7 separate regions of the Homo sapiens genome follow, and all the other regions are linked to region 4. Evidence: promoter capture Hi-C in 16 types of primary human blood cells and fetal thymus (Javierre and others, 2016). All regions are on one chromosome and are shown on one strand. The core of a region is centred on a gene start or on the middle of the fragment in contact, and the rest is flanking DNA. Distances in the headings are between cores, read along the strand shown. Region 1 overlaps AFG3L2 (AFG3 like matrix AAA peptidase subunit 2). Region 2 overlaps CEP192 (centrosomal protein 192). Region 3 overlaps CEP192 (centrosomal protein 192). Region 4 holds the start of CEP76 (centrosomal protein 76). Region 5 has its middle 14 kb from the start of AFG3L2. Region 6 overlaps CEP192 (centrosomal protein 192). Region 7 holds the start of PRELID3A (PRELI domain containing 3A).

Region 1 (3,391 bases), core at 665-3,164, 360 kb after region 4:
CTGTGTATTTATGCCTTTTTTTTAGGTTAAGGAGAAGTGATCAGAGAGGGCAGGGCAGAGCGGGCAGCCACGCAGCCGCAGGTTTTGCTCTGAGGCAGCTGCTGGGCCCCGCAGGCAGTGTTGTGTAGTGAGATAGGCACTGAGAAAATGAATGACTCCTAAGGTGAACTGTGGGGAAAGAAGGCTTCTTTGCTTTTACAGGTAAGCCAGAAGTGTTCATCGGCAGACAGACTTAACTCCTGTTTTGTAACTTCCCGCCCTGTGGCATATGCTTGTCTTGGGTTGTGTCATTGGGAACACAGCTTTTGTTTTTGTCTTCCAGTCTCCTTAACATCAGCTGAGAAATTCTCAGGTGGATTACCATGAACATGGCAAAACTACTTTTGCCACTGTGTGATGATTTGTTTTAGTACAAATGGCGCAGTTAGTTTTTACAGCACAGAGGTATGGAGTGAGGGGCAGAGCCCACGTTGATCCAGGCCAGAGAAGAATCACGCTCAGACTAGAGTCCGGTCAGCACTGTGGTGGACGCAGGCTGCAGCACGGGTCTTGTGGGCCCTGTGTCGCTGGGGTTTGCCCTCTGGGTCTGCTCTGCCACTTCTGTGGCTTGCTCTGAGCCATAGGGCCGGCTGGTTAGGTGAGGGTGCGCCAGCATCAGCCTGGCTGGCTCCACCTAGGTAGCTCCGGGTGTTGAACTGGCTGCCTGCTTTCTCAGACTCTCTTCTGCCTTCCAGCAGAACAGACAGCAGGTAGTGTCTTATGGCAGCCATCTTCGCGTGCCCAGTATTTGATAATTCTGAATACCTAGACTATGCAATGAGGACCTTTCCAGAGTTTTGGTTTCTGTAATTTTGCGTGTTTTAAAATGACCTTAATGCTGAATTTTATTTTACATTTCTATTTGTTTCCCAAAACACAGGGTGTGTGGCTTAAAAGTGAGAGAGTTAGGGTGAAAGCAGGCCTGGGGATGGGGGAGTGAGTGCATTTTTGCTGTAGTTGTATTTTGAACCTGACCTTTTGCTTTTATTCTGACCTTGATTGGGAATTCTATTTAATTTTTTAAAAAAATTTTTAACTTAATTTAATTTTTTTTTTTTTTGAGACGGATTCTTACTCTGTAGCCCAGGCTGGAGTGCAGCGGCATGATCTCAGTTCACTGCAACCTCCGCCTCCTGGGTTCAAGTGATTCTCCTGCCCCAGCCTCCCTAGCAGCTGGGAGTACAGGCGCTCACCACGACGCCTGGCTAATTTTGTATTTTTAGTAGAGACGGGGTTTCACCATGTTGGCCAGGCTGGTCTCGAACTCCTCACCTCAAGTGATTGGACCACCTCAGCCTCCCAAAGTGCTGGGATTACAGGCATGAGCCACTGCGCCTGGCCTTGATTAGGAATTTTTGGATTGTGATAGGCAGCTCAGTCTCCAAACCCCATTTTAGGTAAGGCAATGTATAGCACTGTATAACTGTCTTTTAATGTCAGTGTCACTGTAACAATGGCTTGGGTTTTTTTGTTGTTATTTTGTTAGGCTTAGAGAAGAAAACGCAGGTTCTGCAGCCTGAGGAGAAGAAGACTGTGGCATACCACGAAGCAGGCCATGCGGTTGCCGGCTGGTATCTGGAGCACGCAGACCCGCTTTTAAAGGTGAAGCAGGGTAGCTGCACTAGGCAGCCAGTGCATGGGTGAGCAGATGCTCGCTGCAGTCACTCAAGAAGCAAGCTACACTCCTGCAAAGGAGAAAGAAACAAGGCTTTAGCCAAAACTTCTGGTAACTTCTGGTAACCATAGTTGCACAAACCGTCCCATAGATAAATATAAAATTTGGACAGAAAATTATTTAAAGGGACCACAGAGTGTCCAAAAGCAGGCGAGAGCTGGAGAGTTTGCTCCTATAAAGCAGCAGTTGCAGTGGGTTTGAACTGGGAGCCTGTGGCTTTCTTGCCAAAGGGTTTTTCATAATCTCCACACTACAGTGGTATGAGACATAGTCTTTATTATCCTGAGGTGGTAGAGGAGATAGTCCAGGACTTAAAGAATACTGGAAATTTAACAGGAAAATCCCAGAAGCAAGAAAACTACCAAGTGGTGAGGCCCGAATCTGAGCAGGAACTGCCCAAATCTCAGGCCGACAACTAAACTACACATGCACAGTGGCAATCCCAGAGAACCTGGCAAAAGGGTAAGCAGAGACCAAAGAGAAATCTACCCCTGAAAGACGGGGGAACCATGTGAGATTTTTAAGTTTTTTGCTTTTCAACTGAGGCATTTCCCGAACTGCTGCAGCACAGATGACAGAAAGCAGCTGCCTCCCTGCCTTGCGATGGGTATCAGGGCTGCTGGGAATTGAGGCGGGCCAGGGGTGTGGGGGTCCCCTGAAGCAAGGGAACCATAGAGAAGACAACATTAGAGTGTCCATAAAACATCCTAAGGAACCCACAGAGAACCCACTAGAACTAATAAGTAAAGTTAGCAAGGTTGAAGAATTCAAGGTCAGTATACAAAGACCAATTGTATTTCTGTGTATTAGCAATAAACAATTGGAAAATGAAATTTTAAAAATTCAATTTCATTAGCAATTTCAGTAGCATCTAAAAACTCGAAATATGGAGGAATAAATTTAAGAAAATATTTGTAGGACATGCACATTGATAACAAGCCCTAAATAAAAATAGAGGTGGACTTTGCTCATGGAGTGTTACATCAGTTCTCCCAAAACTAATTGATAATTTCAGTGCAATCTCTGGTAATTATAGCAGATTTTTTTTTTTTGTGGAAATTGAGAAGCTGAATCTAAAACCGATATGGAAATACAAATGAGTAAGAGTAGCCAAAACAGTAAGTTACTCATCCCAGTATTAAGACTGTGCAGCTACAGTGATGAGAGTGTAGTGCTGGTAAGAGGACTGGCACGCAGGCCAGTGGGGTGGAATGGAGCCCGGAAAGTGAACCACAAACTTTTGGTTCACAGAGGTACCAGGATAATTCAAGGGGGAGGAATTGTCTTATCTACAGGTGGTTCTGGCAACAGAGTATTCACAGGAAAAATGGTGAACGTTAACCCTTGCATCATATGCAAAAAATTATTTGAAACAGGTCATAAGAACTAAAACCATCAAACTTCTAGGAGAAAATACAGGGAAAAATCTCTGTGGCCTTGACCATGCAAAAATTTCTTGGGACACAAAAAGCATGAGCCACAAAAGAAAACGTTGATAGGTGGGATCTCATCAAAATTTCAAACTCTCTTTCTTTGAAAGACAGTTAAGAAAATAAAAAGGCAAGCCACGCCCTCCAAAAATACATGCAGTACATATACAGGACAAAGGACTTATTTCTAGAACCTGTAAAGAACTCTTAGAACTCAATAATAAGAAAACAACCCAGTAAAACAATG
Region 2 (3,217 bases), core at 387-2,886, 300 kb before region 4:
CATGCTATAGGCTTTATGGACCTGGAAAAAAATCTGCTCAAACAAATCTTACCTGTTATCAGTGCTGGATCTATCCCTAGCAAGTGTAGAAACAGCAACAGGCAAGCCAAGATTTGAAGAAAGAGTGACATTTTCCAAAATCCCACTGTTACCAAATAATGAATTGGTGAGAAAGCTTGGAAATGATTCTTCTGCTATACCTCGAAAATCTTCCATCTCACTGCAATAACAAAAGTATTTCTATAGGTCACATATTACTATAAAATGTTTTTAAATGATTAAAAGCATTGTCTTAGAAAACTAATAAATCTTAGGAAAAAAATCCTTTTTTTAGCATTAGTAAGGGGGAAATAGGCAAATAGTCTGAGGTAAAATAAATCTCAGAATACTTTGCTACTTTATAGATGAGAATAGAAACCTTAAACATTAAACTTACCTTCTTATAATTAACATAATAATGCAATACAACACATTTTAATTTGCCCTTTGCTTGGTGTAGCTAGGAAAATGAATTACTACAAACTTATCTAGTAAAGAAAGCAAAGATGGCATAACACTGATGGTATATACAAATGATTTTAGGACATATTTAAAAGTTTGGTAGTTACATACTCATTCTAATACGGAACAGAAAAAGTACAACCAGCAAAAATCTAGCCCGGATCTCAGTGTTGTTAAGACTGAATTAAAAAGTGAACCCATTCAAAGAACAATTTTCAGTTAAAGTATAGTTGGCACATGGACAAGGTAAAAGTGGTAAAAGGGGTACCCAAATGACTAAATCTGGAAAACACCAGCACAAAACCTATGCTATTACTAGAGAACCTGACCACGGTGCTCTGAAGATGTTAGCTAGTCTCAACAATTTTTCAGAGTACGTATCATATACACACTGCATGGAAATCAGTAAAGGAAATAATGGCAGAAGGATAAAAAGATAAATAATCAGGAAAAGCTAAAAAAAATGAGAGGATATTGGCAATGCGCCTTGAAGACTGAGAAGAACTTTTATAGGCAGAGTATGGGATGAGAGAGTTTATTTAGGATGATAAACATGAGCCAAGAAGGAAAAGAATTAAATTTTATTGCATATCTACTAACTTAGCTCACTGAATCCACAGAAAATCTTACAATGTAGGTATTATCCCATTTTACAGGTGAAGAAACAAACTGAGAGACTAAATTAGCTCAATTTTCCCAAGGTTGCAATTAGTAAGATTCAAACCCAGGTCTGACTCGAAAATCCACTCTAAGTGCTAGGTCTATGCTGGCAGTAGCAAATACTCCAATGCATTTTGGCAGCAGGTGAACAAAATAACACAGTAAACGAAGCTAGAATAACAGAATGGAGCCAGATTCTAAAAGTCTGAAACGGTGTGTTGGAAAGTTTGAACTGTACTCTGCAACCAACAAAGAACTGACACAATCAACCTATTATACAGGAAGGGAGAGGACTTAAAAACCTGGAAGACTATTCAAAGAGCTACTTCAGTAATAAAGGAGTATACTAGGATCAATGACAAATTGGATTAAAGCATAGATTTTAGACAGTATGGACTAATTATAAAATATAAAAAGAAAAAGAAGAAGTTTTATGACCACTAAAGAGATTATGAGGCCAGGTGCGATGGCTCATGTCTGTAATCCCAGCATTTTGGGAGGCTGAGGCAGGCGAATCACTTGAGTTCAGGAGTTCAAGACCAGCCTGGCCAACGTGGTAAAACCTCGTCTCTACTAAAAATACAAAAACTAGCTGGGCGTCATGGCGGGCACCTGTAATCCCAGCTATTTGGGAGGCTAAGGCAGGAGAATCACCTAAATCTGCGAGGTGGAGGTTGCAGTGAGCCGAGATTGCGCCCCTGTACTTCAGCCTGGGTGATGGAGCGAGACTCTATCCCCCCCAAAAATAAGAAGAACTTACTTGTTTTGGAATAGGAGTTAAAAGAAATTAAAGAATGTGTAAGCAGAAACTCAGTTCTATGTAAGAAAACCCAATTCCCCCTGAGAAAGAGAAAGAGCTGGAGCCCTTTAAAAATTATCTGCCTGTTTTTCTGTGGCTAGTAAGCCTTATCTCTCCTCCTTTCCCAGGCATTGTGAAGACCCTGTTTCTCTAGCTGTGCAGCTGCAAGGTCACTAGACAGATAAACTCAAGCCATAAAACACATTTTTTCCTTGGAAAGTAAGAAATGATATAATGCATGTCTCAATTAATTGAATAATTGTCTTTGTTTCTTGCTTCTGTAATATGCTTCCTCCTGCACAGATTCCCCCCTGCCGCCCCACGAAATCCTTAAAAGGTAACTTAACTCTTTGTTCAGGGCTCAGACTTGTTCAGGGCTCAGACTTTTTGGATGTTAATCCGACTGGGCCGGTGCACCTAAATAATATATCCTCCTCAACCCCTCGGTCTGATTCCTAAATTATCCCACAACAGTTTATGAAGTGTCCATGCCCCTGTCTGAAGCCCACCTCTTCACTTTGCACTCGATCCCAACCCCTCACTGCACTGACAACCACTCTACCAATCGGCCCCCTTCCATAACATGATCGAGTCTTCTGTCTGTGCAAGCCCTCCCACGCTGGGCATGCTGTTATTTCTCCCACCTTTTAAAAAAAGCCTTCCTCTACCTCACACCCCCATTATCCCCCTGAACTGCCACCACACCTATCCATGCTCCCTTTATCACAGGCTTCCAGAGGAATCATGACTGGCATCCAGTTCCACTCCCATCCTCTCCTGAACGCACCCCACTCTGGCCTTCATCCCACCACACCACCAAAAAAATGCTTGTCAGCATCAGCCCTGATCTCCCTGTTGCCAAGCCGTAGCATACTATAATCTACCTCCGGTCCTTCTTCTGTAGCCTAACATTCAGGTGATTACTCCTTCCTTGGGGAAATACTTTCTTGGCTTCATTTCTCAGACACAGCTGTCTGGTTCTCCTCCAACTCCACCAAGCTGCTGCTTTCCCTTCTCCTTGGCCAGTTCCTCCTTATCTCCTAGACCTCCACAGAGTGGAAGCCTCCAGGGCTTGATCTTCAACTTCTTCCATCAACTCACCCTCTCTGGGTGATTGCCTTCAATTTCAAAGCTTAAAATATCACGTAAAATGTACACCTCCATCTTGGGCCTTTCCCCGAACCTCAGGTATTCAACCGCCTCCACAACACTTCCACTTAGATGTCTAACAAGCACCTACATTTGAATCTTGATTCC
Region 3 (3,337 bases), core at 580-3,079, 330 kb before region 4:
CAAGCGATTCTCCTGCCTCAGCTTCCCCAAAAGCTGGGCCTACAAGCGTGTGCCACCACCCTCAGCTAATTTTTGTATTTTTTGCTAGAGATGGGGTTTTGCCATGTTGCCCATCCTGGTCTCAAACTCCTGGGCTCAAGCAATTCACTCACCTTGGCTTCCCAAACGGCTAGGATTACAGGCATAAGCCAAAATGCCCAGCCTAAGAAAAAACACATTCTTAACCTACAGCACAGAACCTAGGAATGAGCATCAGGAGAACCATGAAGCCCTCAAAATTACATGCAAAATCATACATTCCATATATTTCTATGAAGATTCATTGTGGAATCTATGACTCAAGCTAAGTTAAAAACCACTGCCCTAAAAGATGAAAGGAGCAACCAACCAAATCTGACAGCCAAGAGAAGGGAAGTAGGAAACTCGGCCCAAAAGAGGGTAATATGGTTTGGCTGTGTCTCCACCCAAATCTCAACTTGAATTGTTATCTCCCAGAATTCTCAAATGTTGTGGGAGGGACCCAGGGGGAGATAACTGAAACATGGAGGCCGGTCTTTCCCATGCTATTCTCATGATAGTGAATAAGTCTCACGAGATCTGATGGGTTTATCAGAGGTTTCCACTTTTGCTTCTTCCTCATTTTTTCTCTTGCTGCCGCCATGTAAGAGGTGCCTTTTGCCTCCCACCATGATTCTGAGGCTTCCCTAGCCACGTGGAACTGTAAGTCCAAGCAAACCTCTTTTTGTTCCCAGTTTCGGGTATGTCTTTATCAGCAGCATAAAAACAAACTAATACAGAAGGTAACCCAAAAGAAACTTAATTTACTTTGAGGAGTTAAATATCACCTGGTTTTTAAATAATTGACCGAACAGCTCAAAATAGGATTTATTATATTCCTAAATGCTTTTTCTCTGAACTATAAGGGATTCATCAAAGAAACATCTATATTAACACTGTTATCTTGTCTACTCATCAGAAATCAATCACAGCCAATAAGAAAGCAGAACTTCACTTTTTATGAGAATCTATGCCAATTCTTTGGCATACCTAAAACAACAATCCTCTTGTACTGAATGCTTCCGAGGCCAAACGTGGAAGCAGCCCATTTGTGTTTCCCCCACTGTCGAACTCTCAGGTCATAAGCGGCAGCAATGCAGCACCTTGAATAGATGGAGCTGAGCTGTCGGCAAGGAGGAAGGCAGGCATGGGGAAGAAGAGGAGGCAGGCTTTTTTTTTTTTTTTTTTATGAGACAGAGTTTTGCTCTGTCGCCTAGTCTGGAGGGCAGTGGTGCAATCTCGGCTCACTGCAAGCTCTGCCTTCTGGGTTCACGCCATTCTCCTGCCTCAGCCCCCTCCTGAGTAGCTGGGACTACAGGTGCCCACCACCACACCCAGCTAATTTTTTGTATTTTTTTTTTTTTTAGTAGAGACAGGGTTTCACCATGTTAGCCAGGATGGTCTCGATCTCCTGACCTGGTGATCCACCCACCTTGGCCTCCCAAAGTGCTGGGATTACAGGCGTAAGCCACTGCGCCCGGCCGAGGCAGGCTCTCTTAAGGAACTGTTCTGAATAAAGTTTATAAGTAGGCAAATTTTCATTTAAAATGACTTGGACGTTACAAGATTACACCCTTTTTTCCAACCTTCCTTTTCTGAATATCTCCTTTTATTACATTTTTAAAGTTCCTTTCTCCTTTTCAGTAAAAAGGCTCCCATTTCATTAATGCTACCTCCACCCCTATTTCCCTGGATCTAGTCCATCCTTCCCAGCACCCATCAGGTTTTCTGTCCACCAACCTTTTTAATAGCTTTCCATCTCCCCGTTTCCCTTTCCTCCCCACCCATGCTAGTCATCCTTTCCAACCAGACTAGTATTCATTCCCTAAGCACAAGGATGGTTTCATTCAATCTTTCCGTTATCATTTTTTATTTTTTAATAGTAATACATCTAATAATTCAAATTTAAAAGGTGTATTTATGACACCACAATAAAGAGCTTTTCAAAGTTAACCAAAGACTTACAAGGGTATATACTGAAAACTATCTCCCCATCCCTGACCCTAGTTTCCCACACCCCCAGAAGCAACCAACAGCTAAAATATTTCTGAAATGTCTATCTGAATTTTTGATTTCTGAGTTCAAGTAACTAGACATTCCTGTAGTCAGTATCTTGTTTTATCTTTCCATTGTATGTATTTACAAATATCTGTATGTACATCCTCCCCTCTCCTACCTTTCTACACAAATGTTAGAATACTTTATGTGCTTTGAGGTGGACTTTATCTTTAATTTATTCCAGTGATCATTCCATTTGAGTAACTAAAGAGCTCCTTTACCATTCTGTATAGCCACAGGGTACCTCCTTGTATGGATGCACCTTAATTTATACCCTATTTTGTCCATCTACATTGCTTCTAACGTTGTTATCACAGACAATGCTGCAAGTAATGAGCCTGCACATACACCATGTATCATTTATGCAAGTGTATCTGAAGAATAAATTCCCAGAAGCAGAACTGCTCGGTTACAGGATAGTACATGCGTAACTTTGCTAGATGCTGCAATGTCATTATAGGTAGACGCGGTGCCAAGAATGGACTAGCATACCTGTGTCCCTCACATCTTTGCTAAGACAGTTTTATCACCAAACTTTTGGATCACTACCAAGGAAATAACTGAAAAATACTATGACTGGGTGGATTTACACTGCATTTCTTTCCATGATTAAAAATGAACATTTTTTGTTGTACATTTAACGATCGTTTTTATTTCTTTTTCTATAAATTGTTTCCAATTTTGGGGTAGTTGGTCTTTTTCTTATTGTTTATTGGAACTGTTTATATATTAGGGGAATGGGCTTTAAACCTGTAATATGAATTGCAAATCTTTTATTCTCAGTTTGCTAATTTTTAAAAACTTTTTACGATAGAGAGGTGAAGTGTACAGCTCAAGGAATTTTCACAATCTGAACACATCTGCATAGCCAACAGCACAGATTAAGAAGCATAATACTGCCAGTACCCAAACCACCCGAGCCTGCTTCCCATGCTACCTGCCCATCCACATGTAGCCACTGCCCTGTGGCTGGCTCTGCAGGAGTGCATTGCCCAGCTGTATACAAATAGAACTATAGAGTGTGTGTTCTTAGTCAGCTTTACGTCATTCCACATGTTCCTGAGATTCATCCATGTTGTTGCATGTAACTTCACATCACTCATTCTCATTGCAACCTAATATTCCAGGGTATGAATAAACATAATCCATTCTATGGCTGAGGGAGGGGAGGGTGATTCTGCAGTGACTTGGAAACTTCCACTGCTAATGGGAATTTGAGAAT
Region 4 (3,411 bases), core at 246-2,745:
CCTCTTCACCACTTCACTGGTAACTGTTTGTCCAGGTGACCATCATTAACATGTCGCTAAATCCAAACATACACTTTCTTCACCTTACACATCTCTGGGCTACTTTTGACATGGCCACTCCCTCCTTTTTGAAACACTCTTCTCTGGGGCTGTGTGTTTTATATGTAATGAATAAGGATGACACTTCCAGCTCTCTCCAGCCTTATACCACTCCAAACAGTGCATTTTCCAATGGTGCCTTCTGGGTTCACAGGGCCTACAGCCTATTCTCTCTCAATGTGTCATTCCAAATTCTTGGCAGTCTTCAAGTCCCCCTGCTTACTGACTCTGTTTTAGACATCCATCTTTCTGAAACGCCTACTTTCCCCTACTCCCAGCCCACGGGCCCTCCATCTTTTGCATACTACTTTCTCTATAAAGCCTTTCTTAACAAGCCATCTGTCCCTCCCCTCCCAATTATCTCAGGACCTTTCTATACCCTTTCAAGCTTCTAGCCTAGCATTTATTGCTCTTAGATTACATGTTTCCAACTACAGTGTAAATTCTTTGAGGGCACGCACCTAGTCTTATTCTAATACTCGCACATAACAGACTTTATTAAAACAATGAATGAATATAAAGAGCGATAAAACTGCGCTAACTACCGGCAAGAGTTAATGTTTATTGCCCTATCAGTAGTTCTCCGGTTAACAACGATAATATGCTAGCTTAAGACTAATTCTAAAACTAGTCGTAGAAAGACTTTCTAGGATAAAACTGAAGGATGCCCTGCAAAACATAAGTACAGTGTATCTAGAACGTACGAACACATCACGTTTTACAGGAAACAGAGACTACAAATTGTAGACTTGACTACGTTTGGTTTTACAGCCGACAAAGGTTCTGTTTGGACGGCTGCCTCCGGCTACAACCTCCCTGTTTTTTCCGGCCGAAAACATGAAATAGAAACTAGTGCCCTATTTCTCCCAAGGCACCGCCAAACACCCCGCGTCGGGGTGGCGACACCGCAGGGGCCTCGGGAGGCGGCAGCCCCGAGCGCAAATGGAGACTCACCATTAGGAGGGTGAAGCCGGCAAGGTCGGGGGCCGACTCCCCGCAGGGAACGAACATGGTCGCAGTGGGGTGGCCAGCAGGGACTAACCGCGGCCCTGGCAAGAACGAGGGCAGCAAGAAGGCGGAAGCCCGAGACCCCGGAGCCTCGCGGGGCGCGGGAGGGTCCTTTGAGTCCCTGGGCGCCGGGCCCTTGAGGCCCGTCCAGCTAACTGCCGGTTCAGAGGGCGGAAAGAGGCCGCCGGGTGGCCGCGAAGAGGGGCCAGCAGCGCTTTCGGAGACCCTGGCAAGCAAGGCGATGGGGTGCGCTGAGGTCTCGGGGTGCGGGGCCCGCGGGGAGGTGGAGCGGCGGGCGGAAACGATCAGGCAGCGTGCGGGCCAGCCCCAAGCCCTGTTTGTCCGCCACTGTTTGAAAACAGTTGGCGCCGCCGCCGCCGGGGCCTCATTTCCAGGTCAGCCCCCGGCCTGACGCGGCGTTGCGTCCCCCGGGAGCTGCGCTAGGCGAACGGCTGCGGCGCTTTGTGCTCCAGTCGCTCCTAACGCTCCCTGGCCCGGCCGGGGCCGCGCAGTTAGGGCATCTGAGGCGGGGAGAAGCGGCGGGGAGACGCCGGCTGCCAGCATGTCGCTGCCTCCGGAGAAAGCCTCCGAGCTGAAGCAGCTCATCCACCAGCAGCTGAGCAAGGTGAGAGTCGCGGGTGCTGGGAGAGACCGCCGGGCCGACCCATAACCTTTCCCTCCTGCCCGGCGGCCCCGGGCCGACAGCGGCATCTGCTTGCCGGGACTGTAGCGAGGATTGTGGGGTGCGCAACGCAGAGTAGGCAGAGCTTTGAGTTTGAGGCAGGAGAGCGTCCTCGTCTCCGAGAAAGAAAACGAGCCGAGCAGGTGCTAGCAAGAGTCTGGGGCGATAGAACGAGCGGTCTTGGCGTTTTAGGACGGCCGTGAGAATGAAGCGCTTAGCGAGCGACTTCTGGAAGTCGGATCGAGTGTAAGTTGTATTTGGAGGTTTATATTCTGCTGTAAGATATCAGGTTTTTTTTCTTTCTTGAGACGGAGTCTCTCTGTTGCCCAGGCTGGAGTGCAGTGGCACGATCTCGGCTCACTGCAACCTCCGCCTCCCAGGTTTAAGCGATTCTCCGCCTCAGCCTCCCGAGTAGCTGGGATTACAGGCGCGCGCCACCACGCTCGGCTAATTTTTGTATTTTTAGTAGAGACGGTTTCACCATGTTGGTGTGGCTGGTCCCGAACTCCTGACTTCGTGATCCGGCCGCCTCGGCCTCCTAAAGTGCTGGGATTACAGGCGTGAGCCTCCGCGCCCGGCAGATATCAGGGTTTCTTTACCGCTGAAACATGTGGGTATCAGCGAAGTTGAACCAGGAGCTTCAATCAGCAATTCTCAAATAAGTCATGGAAGAGAAGTTACTAAAGGGTTTGTAATGACGGAATTTGTTAATATTTCGGAGCTCCAGAAGAACCTCCAGTTTCTGCAGCGCTCGCTCGACTGAGTGCAAGATGCTGAAGTGATAAAAGCGACCATTTATGGTGCCCTTGTGTGCCAGGCTTTGTGCTGTCTAGTATCTTTAATCCTCACAACACTATCGTGAGAGGGCACTACACTAGGTTTTTCCATTCTTATCGGTGACGAAACAGATTTATAAAGGGTAAATAAGTTGGCTTGAGGTTACACATCTACTAAGTTGAAAGCTGGTAAGATTCCCTTATCATTAGGCAGATCAAAGTATGAAAGTAATAAGATCATACTTTGATCTGCCTACTCCCAGTCCGTGTTCTTCTGATTATACTATACTCCCTCTCAGAAGATTCCTTTTGGTTGAGTGTTGTTTGTGGAGAAATGGTAACAAAGGTGCCAGATAACCAGTGGAGACTATTTCTAGAATTTGTACTCAAAAGATTCATTCTTTAAAAGCTTACCTTTGTTCCCATTCAATTGTGGTAACAATTGTGCATTTACTGTTAGCTGGAGAACCTTAAAACTTCAGAAGCAGTATTTGACTGCTTTGTGATGTTATAAATTGTAATATGAGTTTTCTACATAGATGGATGTCCATGGTAGAATAAGAGAAATCCTTGCTGAGACTATACGGGAAGAATTGGCACCTGATCAACAGCATTTATCAACAGAAGATTTGATCAAAGCCCTTAGACGTCGAGGAATCATTGACGATGTGATGAAAGAACTTAATTTTGTTACTGTGAGTAATCTTTTAGGGAAATAAATGAGAGTATATATGTATATACTAATGCGTAACACTACTTATAAGGTTCCGATGTGGGGCCTTTCGTTTTAGTAAAACCACTTCAAGGTCATTCTGTTTACTAGTGTCCTTGTTTCAAGTATAGGCT
Region 5 (3,508 bases), core at 932-3,431, 310 kb after region 4:
ACAGGCGTGAGCCACTGTGCCTGGCCAAAAAAAAAAAAAAATTGTTTTAAATAGAACAATTAGCTCGGTGTGGTGCTGTGAGCATGTTGTCCCAGATGCTCAGGAGTCTGAGGTGGGAGGATCACTTGAGCCCAGGAGTTCAAGGTTATGGTGAGCTATGATCACACCACTGCACTGCAGCCTGGCCAACAAGTGAGACTCTGTCTCTGAAAAAACAGGAGCACATCCCTTTTACTTTCTGTGGTATGTTTCCTCTTTTCAACACCTACATAGAATTGCTGAAGTAAGGCCAGATGTGGTGGCTCATGCCTGTAATCCCAGCACTTTGGGAGGCTGAGGCATGTGGATCACCTGAGGTCAGGAGTTCGAGAGCAGCCTGGCCAACATGGTGAAACCCCGTCTCTAATAAAAATACAAAAAATTAGCCGAGCGTGGTGGTGGGTGCCTGTAATCCCAGCTACTTGGGAGGCTGAGGCAGGAGAATCATTTGAACCCAGGAGGCGGAGGTTGCAGTGAGCTGAGACCGAAACTCTGTCTCAAAAAACTCCGTCTCAAAAAAAAAAAAAAAAATTGCTGAAGTAAGTCTTTTCAATACACATCTTATGTTCTCCTCCTTACTTCTATTTCTGGGTACTTTAATTCTATCCAATCTAGCTTACAGAGCTTCTCACTAGGTTCCTAACAAACCATTTCCTTCTCAGCTTTCAAATGCCTTCTCACATAATGCCTTCTGGGATTGCGGTACTGTACTCAAAAGATGGCTTATGACAAGGAGTTTGGTGTACCAAAGCAATCATCACATTTTTTTACAAGAAGACACAATTGGGAAAAATCTAGAAACTTTATGATTTGAGTATACCATTGTGGTCAACTCTTTTAGAAAAATATTTGATCACTACCTAGTAAAAGGGTGATAAAGAATCTTCTAAATGTTCTGCAGTTGTCATTCATGAAACGTGCATTGGTAGCACCCTGGCATCAGTGACATCATTCATGGTTTTACTCATTATCATCTGGAAAATAGCAACTGGGCATTGTGTCTTTTCTATTCCTTTACCTGAGGCCCATTGCCAGGAACAGTAGCACAAACCAAGACCACCACTGGAAAAGATTATGTCAGCTTCACTTTATAGAAAACACAGCATTAGGTTGTTCGTGGAGATGAACTATGAACAATAGAAAAATTATTTTTTGAAAAATCCAGACCAGCCTTGTGAACACATCTGAAGGTTTTCTGGAAATGCACGGCGTTGTCTAGAGATGTATAGGGCTCTCCTGACGCCTAGTGGGGAACCGTATGCAGCACAACTCTGGGTAGCGAGCCCAAGCCCTAGCCACAAAACACAAATTATTTTCTAAAAACTAATGTTTACCAGGCAATCTCTCTACTAGGAAACCATCCTCTGAATGGAAGCTGGCACATGTGTATATATGCATGTACCAATAAGAATAATTGGCTGGGTGCGTGGGCTCATGCCTGTAATCCCAGCACTTTAGGAGGCCAAGATGGGAGGATCACTTGAAGCCAGGAGTTCAAGACCAGCCTCAGCAGTATAGTGAAACTCCAACGTTACAAAAAATTTAAAAATTAGCCAGCTGTGGTGGCGCAGGCCTGTAGTCACAGCTATTTGGAAAGTTGAGGCTTGAGCCTGGGCATTCAAGGCTACAGTGAGCTATGATCGTGCCACTGCACTCCAGTCTGGGTGACAGAGCAAGACCCTGTCTCAAAAAAAAAAGCTCACGGTGGCTTCTGAAATAAAAAGAAATGAGAATTAGTCTAAATGACGCTTGGTGAGAAAACTATTAAAGCTTTACAAGAGAATACAATAGAGTTTATTAATGCCTTGGGGGAACTATATGTTATTAACATACAAAAATATATGTTAAACAAAAGAAAAAATCAAGATGCATAAAGTACACGTTCGTTCATGTAAAAATAAGTTTTTTTTTTTTTGTTTGTTTGTTTTGAGACAGAGTCTTACTCTGTCACCTAGGCTGGAGTGCAGTGGCACCATCTCGGCTAACTGCAACCTCTGCTTCCCGGGTTGAAGTGGTTCTCAGGCCTCAGCTTCCCTTGTAGCTGGGACTACAAGCGCATGCTACCACACCCGGCTAATTTTCTATATTTTCAGTAGAGGCTGGGTTTTACCATGTTGGCCAGGCTGGTCTCAAACTCCTGGCCTCAAGCAATTCACCAGCCTTGGATTTCCAAAGTGCTGGGATTACAGGCATCAGCCACCACACCTGGCCTAAAAATTAGTTCTATATGCTTGCAAATACATATAAAATGTATGGACACACACACACAGAAAAAACTACCTAGAAATTTACCTTTAAAGGCCAGGCACCATGGCTCATGCCTATAATCACAGCACTTTGGGAGGCCAAGGCAGGTGGATCACCTGAGGTCAGGAGTTAGAGACCAGCCTGGTCAACATAGTGAAACACTAAAAATACAAAAATTAGCCGGGCATGGTGGCAGGTGCCTGTAATCCCAGCTACTCGGGAGGCCAAGGCAGGAGAATAGCTTGAAATCTGGGAGGCAAAGCTTGCAGTAAGCCGAGATCAGCCACTGCACTCCAGCCTGGGCGACAGAGTGAGACTGTGTCAAAAAAAAAAAAAAAAGTCCGGGCGCGGTGGCTCACGCCTGTAATCCCAGCACTTTGGGAGGCTGAGGTGCGTGGATCACGAGGTCAGGAGATCGAAACCATCCTGGCTAACACAGTGAAACCCCGTCTCTACTAAAAATACAAAAAAATTAGCCAGGCATGGTGGTGAGCACCTGTAATTCCAGCTACTTGGGAGGCCGAGGCAGGAGAATAGCTTGAAATCTGCGAGGCAAAGCTTGCAGTAAGCTGAGATCAGGCCACTGCACTCCAGCCTGGGCAACACAGTGAGACTCCGTCTCAAAAAAAAAAAAAAAAAGAAAGAAAGAAAGAAAGAAAGTTACCTTTAAGATGTGAACATGAGAAATGAAGATACTTTTACTTTTCATTTTGTAACTTTGTTTCTGTCCACACTGATGAAAAAAAAATTTATACTGAACTTTTTTTTTATTTTGAAAGACAGAGTCTTGTTCTGTCACCTAGGCTGGAGTGCAATGGTGTGATCATAGGTCACTGCAGCCTTGAATTCTGGGCTCAGGCAATCCTCCTGCCTCAGCCTCCTGAGTAGCTTGAACTACAGGCCTGTACCAGCACACTGAGCTAATTTTTAATTTTTAATTTTTTTTTTTGAGATGGAGTCTCGCTCTGTCACCCAGGCTGGAGTGCAGTGGTGCGATCTCGGCTCACTGCAAGCTCCGCCTCCCGAGTTCATGCCATTCTCCTGCCTCAGCCTCCAGAGTGGCTGGGACTACAGGCACCCGCCACCACGCCCGGCTAATTTTTTGTATTTTTAGTAGAGACAGGGTTTCACTGTGTCAGCCAGGATGGTCTCAATCTCCTGACCTCGTGATCCACCCGCCTTGGCCTCTCAAAGTGCTGGGATTACAGGCGTGAGCCACCGC
Region 6 (3,452 bases), core at 333-2,832, 350 kb before region 4:
AGCTAATTTTTTGTATTTTTAGTAGAGACAGGGTTTCACCATGTTGGCCAGGCTGGTCTTAAACTCCTGACCTCAGGTGATCCGCCTGCCTCAGCCTCCCAAAGTGCTGGGATTACAGGTATGAGCCACCACACCCGGCCAAAGATGTTAACTTTTATGTGTTCTAAGCCCTCTCCCATTTCTAAACTTGTGTGGCTCTATGAAGCATGAAGTTAACAGTCCTGGTAAATGTCCACACTCATTTGTTTGTACATAATGCATAATCTGAGGAGTGACATCTGCAGCTCTGCAGGATGGACCAGCTGAAATTTACAGACTAGATAGACGTAACCTTCACTGATTGCTTTGGTACTTGGTTTATAAATTTCTCCTGGCCAAAGCTTCAGAAATAAAGACACTAAGAAACAAAGACTATATTATTTGCCAATTAATAATAACAAATAATATGTATCCAGTGGTGACTTACTAGGTGACAAGCACTGCCCTCACATACTATTCCTCCTTACAGATGAAGAAACAGGTTGAGGGAGGTTTAGTAATCTGTCTGAGGAGGCAGCAGAAGATAAGTTATCTGACACCATAACCCAGCTCTCAACCACTATGCTAAGAACATGCAGACTCAGTATCTAACAACAACATGAAAAAGACAGCTTTCAAAGAAAGGGGTGTAATGCTCTCACACTACGCTGTGTATTCAGTAACTCTTCAGTGGCTTGGTGGAGGAAGACTATGCAGCATCCCCACAGCAGTCACAGTTAGCTCATCAAAAAACTGCACACTGTCACATCCACAACGTCCACACACGAAAATAGCTAATACTAGCTTCTCCCACATAAATCTCTCTGATCTTCTATTCTATTCCCACTGCTACTGTCTTGGCCCAAGCGTGCACTGTCTCTTGCCTGAACCACTACAGTGGCCTCATGTCAAATCTCCTATTTTAATTTTGCTCCTACTGTTCCCTCCTTCCTCATTGCTGTTGGAGTGAGCTTTTAAAACATCAAACCAGCCTGGGCTTGGTGGCTCATGCCTGTAATCCCACCACTTTGGGAGGCCAAGGCAGGAAGATCGCTTGAGGCCAGGAGTTCAAGACCAGCTCTGGCAACATAGCAAGACCCCATCTCTAAAAAAATTTGTTTTAATTAGCCAGATGTGGTGGTAGGCACCTGTAGTCCCAGCTACTTGAGAGGCCGAGGCAGAAGGAACACCTGAGCCCAGGAGTACAAGACCAGCCTGAGCAACATGGCAAGAAGCTGTTTCTACAAAAAAAAATGAAAAATTAGCCAGGTGTGGTAGTGCACACCTGTAGTCCCAGCTACTTGGGAGGCTGAGGCAGGAGGATCCCTTGAGACCAGCGGTCCCAGGCTGTAGTGAGCTGTGATCGTGCCACCATACTCCAGCCTGGGTGACAGAGCGAGATCGTCTCTAAAAAATACAAAAACAAAACAAAATCAAAACAGATCATGACAGTGACCTGCTAAAAAGCCTTCAAACTCCCGTATTTTAAACCCAGCACCCTTCCCGGTTTGGTCCCCCCTCTTCTAGCCTCATACACTTCTCCCTATTGACATGATTCACTGTGGCCGTTCTAAACTTCCTGGAGTGCCCAGATGCAGTTTGTATCTTACAACTCTCCACCTCCCCATGTGTTAACTCTGCTTCCCCGCTGCCTAACTCCTAGCAGTCCTGCACGGTGTGGCTTCAGTGTATTTATCCCTGCAGAAACCTTTGCTGAAGCAAAGGCAGTCAGACTTCCAACCACCACCTTCTGAGTCCCCATAGTATGCGCGCAGCATGATGCACTTCATTACACAGCGTGCCTCACCAGACAGAGCTCTTCAAGGGCAGATCCTAAAATGTTTGTACCTCTGTGTCTACCAGCATGAGTAGGTATTTAATATGTGCACACAAATACAAAAATCATTTTAAAGATAAAAGAGCAACACTGAAGTTATATAGGCTTGAACTGTAGTCTGAATCAAACATCTGTTAACACTTTTAAGAGTTGAAAGCCTTAGTAATAAATAATCCAAGTGGCTGCCCACCTTGCGGTCCTCCAGGGCATCATCTGTGGCTGTGGTAGGATAGGAGCTCTCTGGTTCAGACACATACGTCAGCCTGCTCACCCCAGCAGGCGAGCACACCAAGGGAGACAACTCCTGCTCACAGGGAGGCTGCTGCTGCTGAGCTGCTGAACCAAAGGACTCTAACGCACACCTGAAAGAGAAGAGTAGCTCACACCTGGAGTTCTCCAGTCCTTCAACTATCTACATTAGCAAAAAACCATTCCTATGGGCCTACAATCTTGCAAATGACTCAACCACAAATTCAATGTTTACACTTAATTATCTAAAATTGTAAAGAATATTCCCATTGAATGAAGCATCTGTTAAACTAGTGTAAAATGTATTGTGGCATTTTCATTAATAAATACCATATAAAGACACACAGCAATTCATTATTAGCAATTAGCTATTCATGCTATAAAAATCTGCTAAGTATCTGATATAGAGAAATGAACAGAAGATTCCAACCCTCAACGAGCAAAGAGGAAAAAAAATCATGCAGATAAGTGCAAAGAAATGGGAACAGTCACACACCACTGTGGGACTATCAAGTGGTACAACTTTTGGTTGAGCAATTAAGCAGTACATATCAAAGGCCTCTTGACTCAGATATTCTACATTTAGGAATTTATCCTGAGAAAAAAAATTAATGATAAATATAAAGACTTCACAAAAAGGACATGTCCACATCACTGTGGACAAAAAGTAGGAAAGCTTAAATCAGACAGGAGGAACTGAGCTACAGAAATTAGAGCACAAACATGCAATACAACACTATGCAGCCATTCAAAAGCATGCTGTTCTAGCCTTGGTTCAGAAAGATGTCCCTGCTACACAACGTAAAATGAAAAGATCAGGAAGTGACAAATAGTGAGTCTCACATCTATCTGCACAAACACCAGGGTTACTTCCTCATTATTCTGTTCATTAAGCACCTTTCACAGGGCTGCCAGCCGAGATGCAAGGAGCAGGAAACGGACTGCACCTCTTGAGGGGAAGCGGCAAAGTCACAGTGCAAAAGAGCACAGGGGATAGGAAATAAGTGTCAAGCCACATTTGGAAACAGTCTCCACACCTATGCTCTGCCAGTTAGCTTGAATTCAGCCCTTCACTTGGATGGATTCCACCATCTTTCTTTTTTGTACAAAGTTCAGAATACTCAGCTAGGCAATGGACGTACACAGAAAATTCAAATTTGAATTCTGAACTTTTAAAAAGTCCCAAATTGGCTGGGTGCGTTGGCTCACGCCTGTAATCCCAGCACTTTGGGAGGCCGAGGAGGGTGGATCAAGAGGTCAGGAGATCAAGACCATCCCGTTTAACACGGTGAAATCCCGTCTCTACTAAAAATACAAAAAATTAGTTGGGCATGGTGGCGGGCACCTG
Region 7 (3,409 bases), core at 578-3,077, 290 kb after region 4:
CTTGTCCACAGACATTTCACAAACCTCTAGGGCAGACCTCGGCCATTCCATGAGAAAACTGAGCCCCAACCACCTGGCACTCCTGGTATGCAATGACTTAACTGTCCACAGCATCCAGACGGCTCAGTGATGCCCCCATCCTTGTTGCTGATGGAAACCCACTTGAGAAACACTGCAAGCCATACAAAAAATTAGATCCCATCAAGTCTAAAGACTTCATGAAAAATAATTTCAGAGGTTTTGAAACCACTTGATATATTTTTATTATAATTTTACATGTTTAAAGTCAGGCCAGTCACGGTGGCTCACACCTATAATCCCAGCACTTTGGGAGGCCGAGGCGGGTGGATCACCTGAGGTCAGGAGCTCGAGACCAGCCTGGCCAACATGGCGAAACCCTGTTTCTACTAAAAATACAAAAATTAGCCGGGCGTGATGGCCCACACCTGTAGTCCCAGCTACTCAGGAGGCTGAGGCACGAGAATCACTTGAACCCAGGAGGGGGAGGTTACAGTGAGCCAAGATCGCGCCATTGCACTCCAACCTGGGTGACCCAGCGAGCCTATGTCTCAAAAAAAAAAAAAAAAAAAAAAAAACCCAGCCTGGGTGACAGAATGAGACTCTGTCTCGAAAAAAATAAATAAAAAGAGTCAAAGGATGACAATTTCCTTCCACGCAGTACTTTTTTTCCCCCCAAAATAAAATATTTAATGCTTAAGTGAGGTCAGATAATTAAAAAATCTTTGTTGCTGTAAATAAACATTAAAGAATAATTTCAGTGTGTCACAGATCACTGACTTAAGGAAAAGATACCACTTAGGTTAGGAGGGCACTTTTTTCTTCTTTTTATTTGCACAATTCTATGGAGTATATGTGCAATTTCGTTACATGCATAAATTTCGTAGTGGTCAAGTCAGGACTTCTAGGGTATGCATTACCCGGGAAGGTGTCTTGCACCCATTAAGCAATTCTCATTATCCTCCCTGCACCCACCCCCTCACCCTTCAGAGTCTCCATCATCTGACGTTCCACTCTCCACATCCATGTGAACACATTCTTAAGCACCCACTTAGGAGTGGGAACATGCGATACTTGTCTTTCTGGGCCTGGCTTCACTTAAGATAATGACCTCCACTTCCATCCGTGTGCCGGGGGAGCATTTTTAAACAGTTCGAGGTTTTCCACGCTAGCTTGGAGGCCTTCCATGCCTACAAGTGAGTTCAGAGCCAGGGCCCCCGAAATGCCTTCTGCCCCTTTAGCTTCCTCCAGAGCTCACAGCCCGCCGTGGGCCCTCCGTGAAACGCGCGGAAGGTTTATGACAATCTCAGCAAAGGCGCCAGCTTGCAGGCCTCTCCCCTGCCCTGCTCCCGACCCCAAGGAGAGCAGCGAGCGCCAGGCCCCCGGCCGCCCCCCCGGCTCCGGCCGCCCCCGCCCCGGCCGCCCCCGCTCCGGCTGCCCCCGCCCTGGCTGTCGACCACCAGCGGGGCCTCTGTGCCTGCAGCCAGGCCCCTGCGCACGCCGGGGGAGAGGCCGTACCCGGCGCAGAGCCTCGCCCAGACCGCGGTCCCGGGGAAGCGCGCGTGCCCTCTCCGGGACGCCGAAGTTGCGGTCTGGGAACGGCCGGCGCGGGGCGGGGATCTCCGCGAGGCCCGCTGTGAGGTCCGGCCTTTCCTGGACCGCTCCAGCCGGGCTCGGGAGCAGGAGCCGGCGTCTGGACGGCCCCACCGCGGCCCTCAGCCCGGCCTCACCCAAACACGTGCTCCGAGCTCCAGATCTTCATTGCCGCCGGCGCAGGGCGCGGGCTCTGCGATCCGGGCCGGGTGCTTCGGGCCGCGCGGCTCCGGGCGCGGCGTGGGCGGGGCCTCGATGGGCGGGGCGCCCTTGGATGCCGCCCACCCCGTCTGGTGGCTAGGCTGGCTGCAGCGGCTAAAAATAGCTCTGCGGGCGCGGCTGTGGCGCAGCCCCAGACCTGCGCTGCTACCCTGGGGTGCGCGATGCGCGCTTGCTGCAGATGCCGCGGGCGTAGGAGGCGACGCTCGTCCTTACTCCCACTGTCCAAATTCTCCCAAGGCCCTGTCCAGCTACGCCGGTTTGTACTGTCGGGGACGTGTGATGAAAAACAAACCTGCCAACCCTCAAAACTCCACTGCAGTTTGGGTCTTGAACAAACATTAAACCAGCATGTGAGGCCGGGCGCGGTGGCTCACGCCTGTAATCCCAGCACTTTGGGAGGCCGAGGCGGGCGGATCACGAGGTCAGGAGATCAAGACCATCCTGGCTAACACGGTGAAACCCCGTCTCTACTAAAAATACAAAAAATTAGCCGGGCGTGGTGGCGGGCGCCTGTAGTACCAGCTGCTCGGGAGGCTGAGGCAGGAGAATGGCGTGAACCCGGGAGGCGGAGCTTGCAGTGAGCCGAGATCCCGCCACTGCACTCCAGCCTGGGCAACAGAGCGAGACTCCGTCTCAAACAAAACAAAACAAAACAAAACAAAACAAAACAAAACCAGCATGTGATGTGCATCACAAGCAATCCGCCAAATAGGCTGCAAAGACAGAAATCTCAGCCTGTATCAAACAGCCGGGAGGATGCAACCTACCCCACGCATGCTCCCGAGGTAAACGAGACAGCCCTCCGGGGAGGGGACTCCACTACACCATTTGTCGCAGAGTTCATCCTAAATTCGCCTGATGATGGAGTGGCCATTGGTAAATGCAGTGGCCATTTGCGTTTGCTAATTGCCTTTATCCAAAGGAAAAATGAATTTTCATACCTTTATGACAGGAGGTAGGTTTACAATTTGAAGCCAGGTGCTCTCTGGTAGCTGGGCTCCTACCCTCCCACAAAACTGGGAGACGGGGATGACATTTCAAAGAGATGACTCCCAAGTCCTTGAGAAAATACATTCTTGAGTTATAAAACTGGGGGGAAATCTTATTTAGCTTTAAAAAAATGTACGTGTATCTCAAAAAGAATTTGTGATTACAACTTGGCAAATCCTCTAAGGAAAAAGAGTCTCCCTTTCGCATAAACTACTTTTTAGCTTTGCAAAGTACCCTGCACTGCCACAAACGAAGTTGAAGTGCACGGAAGTGAGATGCTTGTTCTAAGAAGAGGGTACTCTTCTCCAGGATGAGATAGGGCGAGAGGGCAGGGCCCTTGTCTGAGTCGGCTGAGTCTCAGCCTAGAGCAGCGCCTGGCGCCCCTGGGGCGTCCGTGGGCGTGGGGAGCGCATTTGTGCAGTGAGGCAGGGAAGTGGAAGAGCACACAGCATGACCCGAAAGACCTGGGCTACAGTCCTGGCTCCACCGTCCACTCACATTGACCTCTACCTCCTACAGCGTTAAGCTCAGGATGATCTTCCAAAGTTGGTGCTATTCTTCCCGTTTTACAAATGAGTTAACTGAA

What was found. Contacts are between HindIII fragments. The CHiCAGO score rates a contact against its expected background, and 5 or more counts as called.
Region 1: a fragment that was not itself captured here is called in contact with the fragment with the promoter of CEP76 in region 4 in 1 of 17 cell types (M1 macrophages); the score reaches 5.1 in M1 macrophages.
Region 2: a contact is called between a fragment that was not itself captured here and the fragment with the promoter of CEP76 in region 4, in 3 of 17 cell types (non-activated CD4 T cells, total CD8 T cells and monocytes). The highest score is 6.2, in non-activated CD4 T cells.
Region 3: a fragment that was not itself captured here is called in contact with the fragment with the promoter of CEP76 in region 4 in 2 of 17 cell types (total CD8 T cells and M1 macrophages); the score reaches 5.4 in total CD8 T cells.
Region 5: a contact is called between a fragment that was not itself captured here and the fragment with the promoter of CEP76 in region 4, in 16 of 17 cell types (endothelial precursors, M1 macrophages, M0 macrophages and 13 more). The highest score is 18.4, in endothelial precursors.
Region 6: a contact is called between a fragment that was not itself captured here and the fragment with the promoter of CEP76 in region 4, in 2 of 17 cell types (erythroblasts and M1 macrophages). The highest score is 5.7, in erythroblasts.
Region 7: a contact is called between the fragment with the promoter of PRELID3A here and the fragment with the promoter of CEP76 in region 4, in 4 of 17 cell types (endothelial precursors, M0 macrophages, M1 macrophages and 1 more). The highest score is 7.5, in endothelial precursors.

The regions. Positions count from the first base shown.
Region 1 is chr18:12,342,382-12,345,772 of GRCh38, reverse strand. It overlaps AFG3L2 (AFG3 like matrix AAA peptidase subunit 2), which reads left to right. Exons shown (of 17, transcript NM_006796.3): 14 at 1,526-1,641. LOC107985154 (a long non-coding RNA gene) reads right to left here. Exons shown (of 2, transcript XR_002958227.2): 2 at 1,450-1,724. Among named protein-coding and RNA genes, the nearest start is that of AFG3L2, 33 kb to the left of the region's middle. The HindIII fragment of the contact is 9,965 bases long and covers 1-3,391 here.
Region 2 is chr18:12,996,424-12,999,640 of GRCh38, reverse strand. It overlaps CEP192 (centrosomal protein 192), which reads right to left. Exons shown (of 45, transcript NM_032142.4): 2 at 53-220. The coding sequence starts at 216. Among named protein-coding and RNA genes, the nearest start is that of CEP192, 6.7 kb to the right of the region's middle. The HindIII fragment of the contact is 2,917 bases long and covers 178-3,094 here.
Region 3 is chr18:13,032,729-13,036,065 of GRCh38, reverse strand. The region is part of intron 11 of CEP192 (centrosomal protein 192); the gene reads right to left. Among named protein-coding and RNA genes, the nearest start is that of CEP192, 43 kb to the right of the region's middle. The HindIII fragment of the contact is 5,250 bases long and covers 1-3,337 here.
Region 4 is chr18:12,700,807-12,704,217 of GRCh38, reverse strand. CEP76 (centrosomal protein 76) reads left to right here and starts at 1,495. Exons shown (of 12, transcript NM_024899.4): 1 at 1,495-1,732; 2 at 3,105-3,260. The coding sequence starts at 1,670. PSMG2 (proteasome assembly chaperone 2) reads right to left here and starts at 1,176. Exons shown (of 7, transcript NM_020232.5): 1 at 1,054-1,176. The coding sequence starts at 1,110. RefSeq lists enhancers at 1,808-1,857, 1,868-2,167, 1,453-2,350. The HindIII fragment of the contact is 2,487 bases long and covers 490-2,976 here.
Region 5 is chr18:12,389,619-12,393,126 of GRCh38, reverse strand. No RefSeq gene overlaps it. Among named protein-coding and RNA genes, the nearest start is that of AFG3L2, 14 kb to the right of the region's middle. The HindIII fragment of the contact is 739 bases long and covers 1,812-2,550 here.
Region 6 is chr18:13,051,684-13,055,135 of GRCh38, reverse strand. It overlaps CEP192 (centrosomal protein 192), which reads right to left. Exons shown (of 45, transcript NM_032142.4): 18 at 2,046-2,217. Among named protein-coding and RNA genes, the nearest start is that of CEP192, 62 kb to the right of the region's middle. RefSeq lists a silencer at 3,060-3,129. The HindIII fragment of the contact is 2,400 bases long and covers 383-2,782 here.
Region 7 is chr18:12,406,347-12,409,755 of GRCh38, reverse strand. It overlaps PRELID3A (PRELI domain containing 3A), which reads right to left and starts at 1,827. Exons shown (of 7, transcript NM_001142405.2): 1 at 1,749-1,827. The coding sequence starts at 1,780. RefSeq lists enhancers at 1,000-1,249, 1,107-1,766, 1,767-2,428 and a silencer at 1,450-2,029. The HindIII fragment of the contact is 9,540 bases long and covers 1-3,409 here.